Linked DNA regions of Homo sapiens: all the other regions are linked to region 3. The links are contacts of gene promoters, found by promoter capture Hi-C in blood cells and fetal thymus (Javierre and others, 2016). All regions are on one chromosome and are shown on one strand. The core of a region is centred on a gene start or on the middle of the fragment in contact, and the rest is flanking DNA. Distances in the headings are between cores, read along the strand shown.

What was found. Contacts are between HindIII fragments. The CHiCAGO score rates a contact against its expected background, and 5 or more counts as called.
Region 1: a fragment that was not itself captured here is called in contact with the fragment with the promoter of HOXC13 in region 3 in 2 of 17 cell types (naive B cells and total B cells); the score reaches 5.4 in naive B cells.
Region 2: a contact is called between a fragment that was not itself captured here and the fragment with the promoter of HOXC13 in region 3, in 1 of 17 cell types (total B cells). The highest score is 5.1, in total B cells.

Annotation. Positions count from the first base shown.
Region 1 is chr12:54,041,122-54,044,231 of GRCh38, reverse strand. It overlaps a transcript of HOXC4 not described here. Among named protein-coding and RNA genes, the nearest start is that of MIR615, 8.7 kb to the right of the region's middle. The HindIII fragment of the contact is 4,734 bases long and covers 1-3,110 here.
Region 2 is chr12:54,058,039-54,060,892 of GRCh38, reverse strand. It overlaps FLJ12825 (a long non-coding RNA gene), which reads right to left and starts at 2,639. Exons shown (of 2, transcript NR_026655.1): 1 at 2,329-2,639. RefSeq lists an enhancer at 2,741-2,854. The HindIII fragment of the contact is 9,317 bases long and covers 1-2,854 here.
Region 3 is chr12:53,937,244-53,940,125 of GRCh38, reverse strand. It overlaps HOXC13 (homeobox C13), which reads right to left and starts at 1,295. Exons shown (of 2, transcript NM_017410.3): 1 at 484-1,295. The coding sequence starts at 1,219. HOXC13-AS (HOXC13 antisense RNA) reads left to right here and starts at 483. Exons shown (of 3, transcript NR_047507.1): 1 at 483-655; 2 at 2,769-2,882. The HindIII fragment of the contact is 9,814 bases long and covers 1-2,882 here.

The sequences.
Region 1 (3,110 bases), core at 390-2,889, 100 kb before region 3:
GGGCCTCAGGTGGGCTTGGGGAAGTGCAATCCAATCTGCCAAGCCAGCTTTGGGGGAGAGTGATTTACAAAGCAAAACCTCAGATGCTACTTCCTGAGAAGTCACCAGATCAAAACACCCTACTCTAGGCGTTTATGACCCTGTCTTTACTCCCAACAGGAAAAGCACCCTCAATAAAACCTCAGCCTGTGCCCCCATCCTCCACCCAGGGGATGGGGAGAGACACAACATAAAATGAAAGACCTGACCCTTACTACTCCCTAAACACACACACACACACACACACACACACACACACACACACACACACACAGCCTGTGTTTTCCAGCCAGAAAGTTGACTTTTAAAAGAAGTATTTACTAGACAAGATTTATCTCTAATGTCTGAGCAAGGGAGCCCTGAGGAGTTTGGAGTTTGAGCTTGGAACAGAAGGAGAGGGGGATTAGATCAGATAAGATTCTGGCCTCCTTGGACCCTCCATGTCTCTTCAACTCCTGACAACTCAATCTGGGCCAACACAACACTGAAGATCACAGAAAGCCTGGCTGCCACCATCCCTGGAGTCAGCTCTAGCGTTTGAGTTTTCCAGAAAGGCAGAAGGAAGGAAACTCAACAGCTGCGCAGGGCTTGAGGGGTGGGGGTGGGGTGGGGAGGACAAATGGTTTCCAAGCTGGGCTGACGGGAAGAATGGAGTGGGAGGGAGGAGTGGGAAGTTGGTTCCATGCTGGTTACTGTGTCCAGCCCAGGCTTCTGACCTCTACCATACCATCCTTGGGCACATATATGTGTTTCTGTGTGTTCAGGTATTCTGGTGTTCAGGGCCAGGGGCTGGGGTAAATGAGAATCTTTAGAGGGCAGAACCAAGCCTGAACTGCCTCTCTGAGACCTGTGGTGCAGAACTGAAAGGATCCTAGGTGACCAGGCTACACATTTCACCCAGCCCATATGGGGTTGCAGATCACTGTAGAACTTTCTCTGTACATGTGTACAGATGCAGAGAAGCAGCCTTCTCCCTGCACTTGCTCCCCAGCATGCCTGGAGCAGTGGACCGGCTCAGGGCCCAGCCCAAGTGTTCAACCTCTTCTCATAGCTGCTAAAATGTGGTCCTTAGAGGCTGAACAAGGTCCTGCATAACCGAGTCCAATTTTCCCAAGTCCCACATTGCACACCCATACCGCTTCCTCTGAGGTATCTCTGTTCCCCTTTTGCCTCTCAGTGAACCTTAGGATTGGGAGAGGGAGATGATTACAAGGGTTGTGTAGGCCTCAAAAATAAAGAGATTTGTATCACCGAAGTTCCTCAACCCAGACCTTGTCTGGCAATTCCTTGGGCTCCTGGAGCCCCATCAAAGCTGCTAGCAGAGATAGTATCAGTACAGACACACCAATGTGGGTCACAAGGAGCCAATAAAAGTTGGGAGGGGTAGGAAAGGATGTGACTTTCTTGGCTCTCAAACAGCATCGTCTTCTCCTTAAATTGAATCATTCACCCCAAAACCCTAGTTTGGCACCCTGATTTCAGATTTTCTTTCTCCTTCACCTCAAAGGGCTTCAGGGGCCCTAGTCCCACTAAAGAAGAGGCTCAGGGTGGTGGTGCTTGTCTTCTCAGCAAAAAGGACCTAATTAAATCCTAGAACAATGATGTTTCAGCATTCCCCCTCTCAAAAACTCAGTCCAAAGCAGTTACAGAGAACGACAGTCAAAAAGAGAAAGTTTACCTTTTTGAGGCACTCACAAGGAGGGGTCGAGGCACTCACAAAATCTCTTTTCCCAGTGCCTGTGTGGATAGAACCAATCTCCCCCTGTCTTTGTTTCCTAACTCTTCATGAGATCTGGTACCCCAGTGTGAGAAGTCCACATTGAGGGTGAGAGTTGGTCTCCAACAATCTGCCACACCATTCACTGGGGAAGAATAAGTGTGTCCTTTAATTCTAACTCATAAAAGAGGCAAATGGGGCTGGCCACGGTGGCTCATGCCTGTAATCCCAGCACCTTGGGAGGCAAAGGCAGGCGGATCATCTGATGTCAGGAGTTTGAGACCAGCCTGACCAACACGGAGAAACCCTGTCTCTATTAAAAATACAAAATTAGCCAGGCGTGGTGGTGCATGCCTCTAATCCCAGCTACTCAGGAGGCTGAGGCAGGAGAATCGCTTGAACCCAGGAGGCAGAGTTTGCGGTGAGCTGAGATCCTGCCATTGCACTATAGCCTGGGCAACAAGAGTGAAACTCCATCTCAAAAAAAAAAAAAAAAAAGAAAAGAAAAGAAAAGGCTGGGCGCGGTGGTTCACACCTGTAATCTCAGCACTTTGGGAGGATGAGGCGTGTGGATTACCTGAGGTCAGCCTGGGCAACATGATTAAATCTCATCTCTGCCAAAAATACAAAAATTAACTGGGTGTGGTGGTGGGCACCTGTAATCCCAGCCACTTGGGAGGTTGAGGCAGGAGAATCACTTGAACCCAGGAGACAGAGTTTGCGATGAGCCGAGATTGTGCCATTGCACTCCAGCCGGGGCGACAAGAGTGAAACTTAGTCTCAAAATAAGCAGATGGAGCAGTGTGGTTGAAGGTAACTTGAAAAGTGAGGGCTCAATGATTTCTGAGAAGAGCTGCTCTTTTTCTGGCTTCTCATCCTTATCCTTCCCACCTGGCCTGTGGCATTGTCCCCAAACCAGCTCCATCCAGAAGACAAACAATGAGGGGATTGTTGACAAAGCCCAGCTCAGTCCGGACTATCCTTCCCATTCTTGTACTCTTAATGCCCCCAGGGGGGTGCTTAGAGGTCCAGGTGCCACAGTCCATCAGAACTCCTGCCCCTTAGCTCAAAGAGGGCAAGAGATCAGGAAGAGAAGGGGAGGAGAACCCAACCAGAAAATTCACTCTGAAACAAAGCTCTAGAGAAGTGGCTGGGGGAGAATACCTGGGTCTGGACCCAGCAGTGGACTGGCTCAGGGCCCAGCCCAAGTGTTCAGGAAACACAAGCATTTCTGTCATAGCTGTGCACTCCCTGTGCCATCAGATGCTCTTACTCAGCAATAGTTTCTCGCCTATTGCTTGTTCTTGGCCTAATCCATGTAAACTCAAACACTGAAATCCACACCTTCAGTGGC
Region 2 (2,854 bases), core at 260-2,759, 120 kb before region 3:
AGATCCTGAGAGGGTCCCATTTCCTGCTCTTGTACCTCGGAGAAAACTATCTTTTAATTTCTAAAGAAAATGAAATCTCATTATTTGGAGGTGGTAGCCGTAGGGTATTGGTCAAGGAGCGATTGAGGGTCCTCTCAATTTTCCACGAAAAGATGGAAGGTGAGATAGGAGGAAGAAAGGAGAGGCTGGGATCTAAAGGGCGAGACCCTCAGGCCCAGCGGAGTTCACCGCGCAGTGAACCCGCTCAGCTGGCCACGCATCCCGCGCTCCCCGCCCCGCGCCCCTATTGTCCGCCCAAGCCCGGGGTCGTGACCCAGCTGAAGGCGACACCGCGCCCAGGGCGGACGTGGCGTGGAACCCAGAGGAGGAGCCTGGCTGCCGCTGGCCCTTGAAACTTCGTCTTTGCCCCGGCTGGCCCCATTTCGCGATCCTCAAGACCCTGGCCTCTGTGAGAAGGGGAGCTGGGACACCCCCACCCCATGAAGACAGTCACATTTTGCCCCATTCTCTCGCGGCCAGGCTTCCCGGGAAGCCAGAGCTCCAGAGTGGAACCTAGGGTTTGGCTATCTGGCAGTGCCTCCTGCACACTCGGTTCCAGGGTTTTTTTCTGCCTGGAAATTAAAATACTGTATACTTTCCTCTCCCGATCTTTGATGCTGGGAAAAGAGGGAGTCAGAAAGGAGGAGTGAGTAGAAGCGACACTATTTTGGCTTCACTCATACCCCATCGAGGCAGGCAGAGCTGACCCTAGAGGATGCTGCCTATTCAGGAATCTGAAAATTGTTGATGGGGCCCGGAAATTTAAAATAGTCCCTTCCTCTTTATTAGGCTCTGTAACCCTAATCGCCCTCAAACATAGTCTGATATTCCCTACCCATCCTTGTCTTCCCTTCCTCCTGATTTATCCTCCAGGCCTGGCAGAAAGTGGAAGCAGGAAGATGAGGCTGCAGAGGCCCTTATCCCGGCAGGCCTGGATGTGGGCTCTGCTGGATTGGCCCTGCGTTCAAAGAGCTACGGAACTGACACCAGAGAGAAGAGAAGAAAAACCCGGAGGAGTGGAGGGAGAGCCAGGGGCTCCTGGCATTGGAGGGCTGATGAGCAAAGCTCCAGATCAGCTTTAGCTTCTTTCTGCTCCCCAAGCTCCAAAGGGGTCTGAGCTCCTTGAGCTGCGCAGGTTTTAAAATGTTCGAGGGCTCCTCACAGATCTGTAGCTCAGAGTTCACTGCCCCCATTTTTAATTATCAAGAGGCAGCTAAAACTCCAACACCCGGAGCAGCCACACGCTGCAGGAGAAAAATCAAAATGGGGCTGGCAATGCAGGGTGCAGAAAAAGCAGGCTGAGAAGGGTGGTCAGCTCTATCAAAAACATTGGTAAGAGGCAAAGACTTTTTTTTTTTTTAACAAATCCCCCAAATGTTTATTTTGGGCTCCTGCCCATCCAGATAAATCAAGCTAACAGATTAGGAAGTTCATAAAATTGTATTCTTAGGTAATGACATCCAGAGAGGTAATAAATATTCCCTCTGCTCTGGTGGCCGCTGGAGTTCTGGTGTTCAGGGATCTTCCATCTCTCATTCCAAGCCTGAGAGGGGTCTCTTGGAAGGGGAACATTTAAATTAAAATTAGCTCTCCATAGGTGCAGTGCCAGATAGAAGCTGTGGAAAACCCGGAGCGGTGGTTTTGTGAGTGCAATAGCTTGCTCCCCCAGGACTGGGCAAAAGGCAGAGAAAAAGATGGTACAGTTGCTCCAGCGCACTGCTCCTCCCCGTCATAGCACCCTTGATCTTAAGGGCCCCTTTCAGAGTCAGTCTCCCCTAATCCTAGAAAAGCAGAGAAGGACACCCTGGCTCCAAGCTCCCAGCAAACCTTTTAATTGTTTTCACTTCCCTACAACTCCCCCCAACACACACACACACACACACACACACACACACACACACACCCCTAGCTGTGGGAAGCTGTCTCTGGATTTCAATCTGCCAAGTCCAAGCAGAAAGAAAACTGAAGCACAGATTGCAGAGAAAACTTTGTAGGAAACTTCACACAAACAGCAGCAAGAGACCCTCGGAAAGGCAAAGTGCCCCAGTCCTTTTCCCTCAGTCTCACTTTCTCAGACTCTCTCTTTTTTGAGCCAAATTTCTTTACTCCCCAGGTACACAGACTCAGCACAGAACCGTCTTTTTCTCCAAGCAGAACCCCTCCGCTTACAATTGGATTTCCCGCCTTCCCTGCCTAAGACCGGGAGTTGAGACAAAAATTGAGTGGCAAATAAGAGTTTAAACTTTTGTGCTCCTCACCCCCAGAGCAGACCGAGTGCTAACTACTTACGTGTCAATGGGATCTTTGGCCTGTGGGGATCTCCTGGCGCTTGGAGAGAAGGAACCCTGGAAGATTGGTGTCGACATTTCACCCGTCTTCTTTTTACTTAGCCATTGAAGAGAGAGGGATACAATGCACTTACAGGCATTCATGCGCCTTGCCTCTCCCATTACTCTGGGCAAGAAATCCCCAGTCCTACAAAAGCAGTGGCATCCTATCTGGAGACCAGGGCTGAGCAAGGGCTGGCTTGGGAGGGTCAGAGATGGGGGTGGGGGAGAGGTCAGAGGCGCTGCCGAATATAAAGGCAATGGGAGAGAAAATGCTGTGTCCTCCCCGTGAACCTGGGCTGTGTCCTCCCCCCAGCCTTTCCCCACTGCTCAACCCAACTTAAATAAAAGCCCAGCCCTCAGCTTCCCAGCGAGGCTGTAGCAGCATCAGGCAGAGCAGCAGGGACCAAGACTGCTGGAGCTTGGGGCCCTCGGCCCAGACTGGCCCCCCACATCCCAACCCTGCCATGCCATTCTGGGTTGCCAAG
Region 3 (2,882 bases), core at 46-2,545:
AAAAAATACTGTCTAGTGCCTGAACGATCCTGCGAATTCTGTCAAAGAAAGTGGGGGTTCTTATTCTCCGCCCTCCCCAGTTATTCGGTGGGTTGGGGGTTTTGTCCTGGATTCCAAGGCACTATAGGCCCACCCCGCCCCCATCCCTTGCCGGAAGCAGGTTTAGGGGCCAAGAGCCCGGCGGGAGGCTGGAGCCTGCAAGGGGAGGCGGAGGCGAGCTACCGGACAGAGCAGAGCCGGCGGCCCGGCTTTCGGGCGCCTGTGATTGCTTCATTCTCGGCCGGGCAGCTACAGAGAACGTGTCGGAGCAGATTTCTTCCCCGGCGCATTCCTCAGTGCAGCTCGCCCGGCCGGCTCCATAGGCAGCCCAGCCGAGCGGGCGCGCCGGGGCCAGACGGCGGGGGTGGTTGGGGCGCGGAGCCCCGGGGCAGGCAGGGCGGGGAGGGGTCCCCGGCGGCGGCGGCGCTCGGGTCCCTTCCTTACCTGGGAAGGGAGACTTCCAGAGGTGGGCGGACTGCGACTGCTCCTTGGAGCAGTACACCTGACTGTCCCAGCCATTGGAGAGAGCCCAGTGCTGGTAGCCTTCGACGGGGATGAGGGCGTCGTGACGCGGCTCCGGGTGCCCGCTGATCCCGGGCACCACCGACACGTCCAGGTAGCCGGGCATCGCCTGGTAGGAGCTGGCGAAGCTGGGGTAGAAGGCGAACTCCTTGGCCCTAGAGGACAGGTCGTCACCGGGCAGGGCGCCCGACGGCTCCGGGTATTTATCGCCCGGGTGGTAGGCGCAAGGCTTCTGCTGCAGGTTCACGTTGTGCGACAGGCGGCAGCCGTAGTAGCTGCCCCCGAAGGGGTAGCCGTAGCCCAGGGTGGCGCTGGACGAGGTGGGGGGTGCGGGCGGCGGGGCACACTGGCGCGCCGCCTCCGGGGCCGGGATGTCCGTATAGACGGCGCCCTGAGGGGCGCCCAGGGGAGCCGGCGGGCGGCCCAGCACGGGGTGCGGAAGCAGGTCGCGGCAGTGGCTGGCCGGGCAGCTGCTGCCCAGACCATCCATGCTCGGGGCTTTGCCGGGGCTCGCTCCGCTGCAGCCACCCCCCGCTCCGCCCGTGCCGCCGCCTCCTCCTCCGCCGCCGCCGCCGATGCCGCTCTCCGCCGCGCTGTCCTCATAGACGTACATAAGGCTCTCCGGCCAGCGTGGATGCAGGAGCAGCGAAGTCGTCATGACATGATCTGCTGGAGCTTTTTAAAAACTCCACTTGCCAGAGGCAGCGAGCTAGGGAGACACCTCGCTCCTGTTTCCCCTCCCCCCATCCCTCCCCTCTTTTCTCTCCACCCCTCCCCTCCTCCTAGTGCTTCCACCTCCCTCCCTACATTCCCTCTACGCATGCGGAGACACTTCATTAAGAAATCCGCCGGCTCCCGCTCTCCACCTCTCAGCACCCCTCCCGCGCCCACGTGACCCGCTCTGCGCACGTGATGCCCCGGCCAGGTCTCCTGGGGTTCCCTCCCCTCGAGGTGGGGCGGGGCGAAAGGGAAAAAGTCTGTGCTGATTGGATCTCAGGTAGGCCAAAGGAGGCGGGAGCTGGGAGATTTAAAGGGACAGGGAGACGCCCCCGGCAGGCCCCAGGGAGGGAGAGGGAGGGGGGGGAGGCTGAATTTGGCCGACGCAAAGGGGTGTAGGGAGGAGAGCGCTGTAACTGGGCGCCTCCGCCTAGGCATAGGATGTGCACCGGAGAGACAGACCCCCTACCGCCAAGCCGATCACTGTGACTGCTGAAGTCTCTGGATTGGGGCTTGAAGCTAAGGGTGGGGAAGAAACCAGGTTTTAAAAAATAATAAATGAAGATAATAGAAAACAGTCAGGAGCGCTCTGGCCCTGGCAGCTCGCCTCCGCTCGCGGCTGGAAAGAACCCGATGCTGCGTAGCGAGCCTTTGATGCCGGGATTGTGTTTCCATTTCCTACCTTCAGCCACATTCCCCAAAACTCTAGATGTCTGAAAAGGACACTCTGCTTTACCTCGCTGGATTTTTCTCAAGCGGAGAGGGGTGTGACAACCCCCAAATACAGAATTCATCACCTGGGGCAGGGGATCGAGAGGCAATGGAATATACTCGGCAATAAATGGAGAAAGAATAAAACGAGGGAAATAAAAGCAATAGAATAGACTGATATTTCAATATGTAATAGAAATAAAAAATCTCAGAGTGAGGTTTTTCAAAGAAATGCGGGTGGTGGGGGCGCAAGATTCAGCCTGGGAAAGCTAAAAGCCCTGGATGCGAAGGAGAGCGCGCTTTCTATAGGTATACAAAAGAAAACGTGGAAAATGGGGGAGATTCAGTGCTACACCTTTGGAGGGACCTCTCTCTGGCGCCACTCTGGGGGACCCTGCAGAACCCACCTCTGCCCTCAGGGGCCTGGGTTAAGCCACATGACACAGTCCCCAGTTTGAATACCCGCAATGGAGCTCCCACGGCTTTCTTAGGTCACCCTCTTTTAGTGAGGAATAGTTTCATGATCTAAAACTGCCCCCTATTTCAAAGAAAAAATTAACACCAACTTACTGATTCTTCAAAAGCTCTCCCTTCTTTCCTCCCAATCTCCCAACTTGTCAGGAGCCTCAATAGAGTCACCCCTTTCTAAGGGAGCATCTCCGTGGAATTGAGTCAAGTTCCCTTTCAGCACAGGACCTCCCTGAGAAATCGTAATGAAGAGAGAAAAATAAGAGGGGAAAGGGGCTGCAGCGTTTCCTTCTTTCCTCCCTCTGCCACAGGTTTTAAATGCTGAGTGCTCGTGTGCAGCCAGCGCACAGACCATGGCCACAGAGCAGCGCCTCGCTCAGCCAGACCTACTGCACCCCTCAAGTGGAGAGCAAATGGACAGGTCT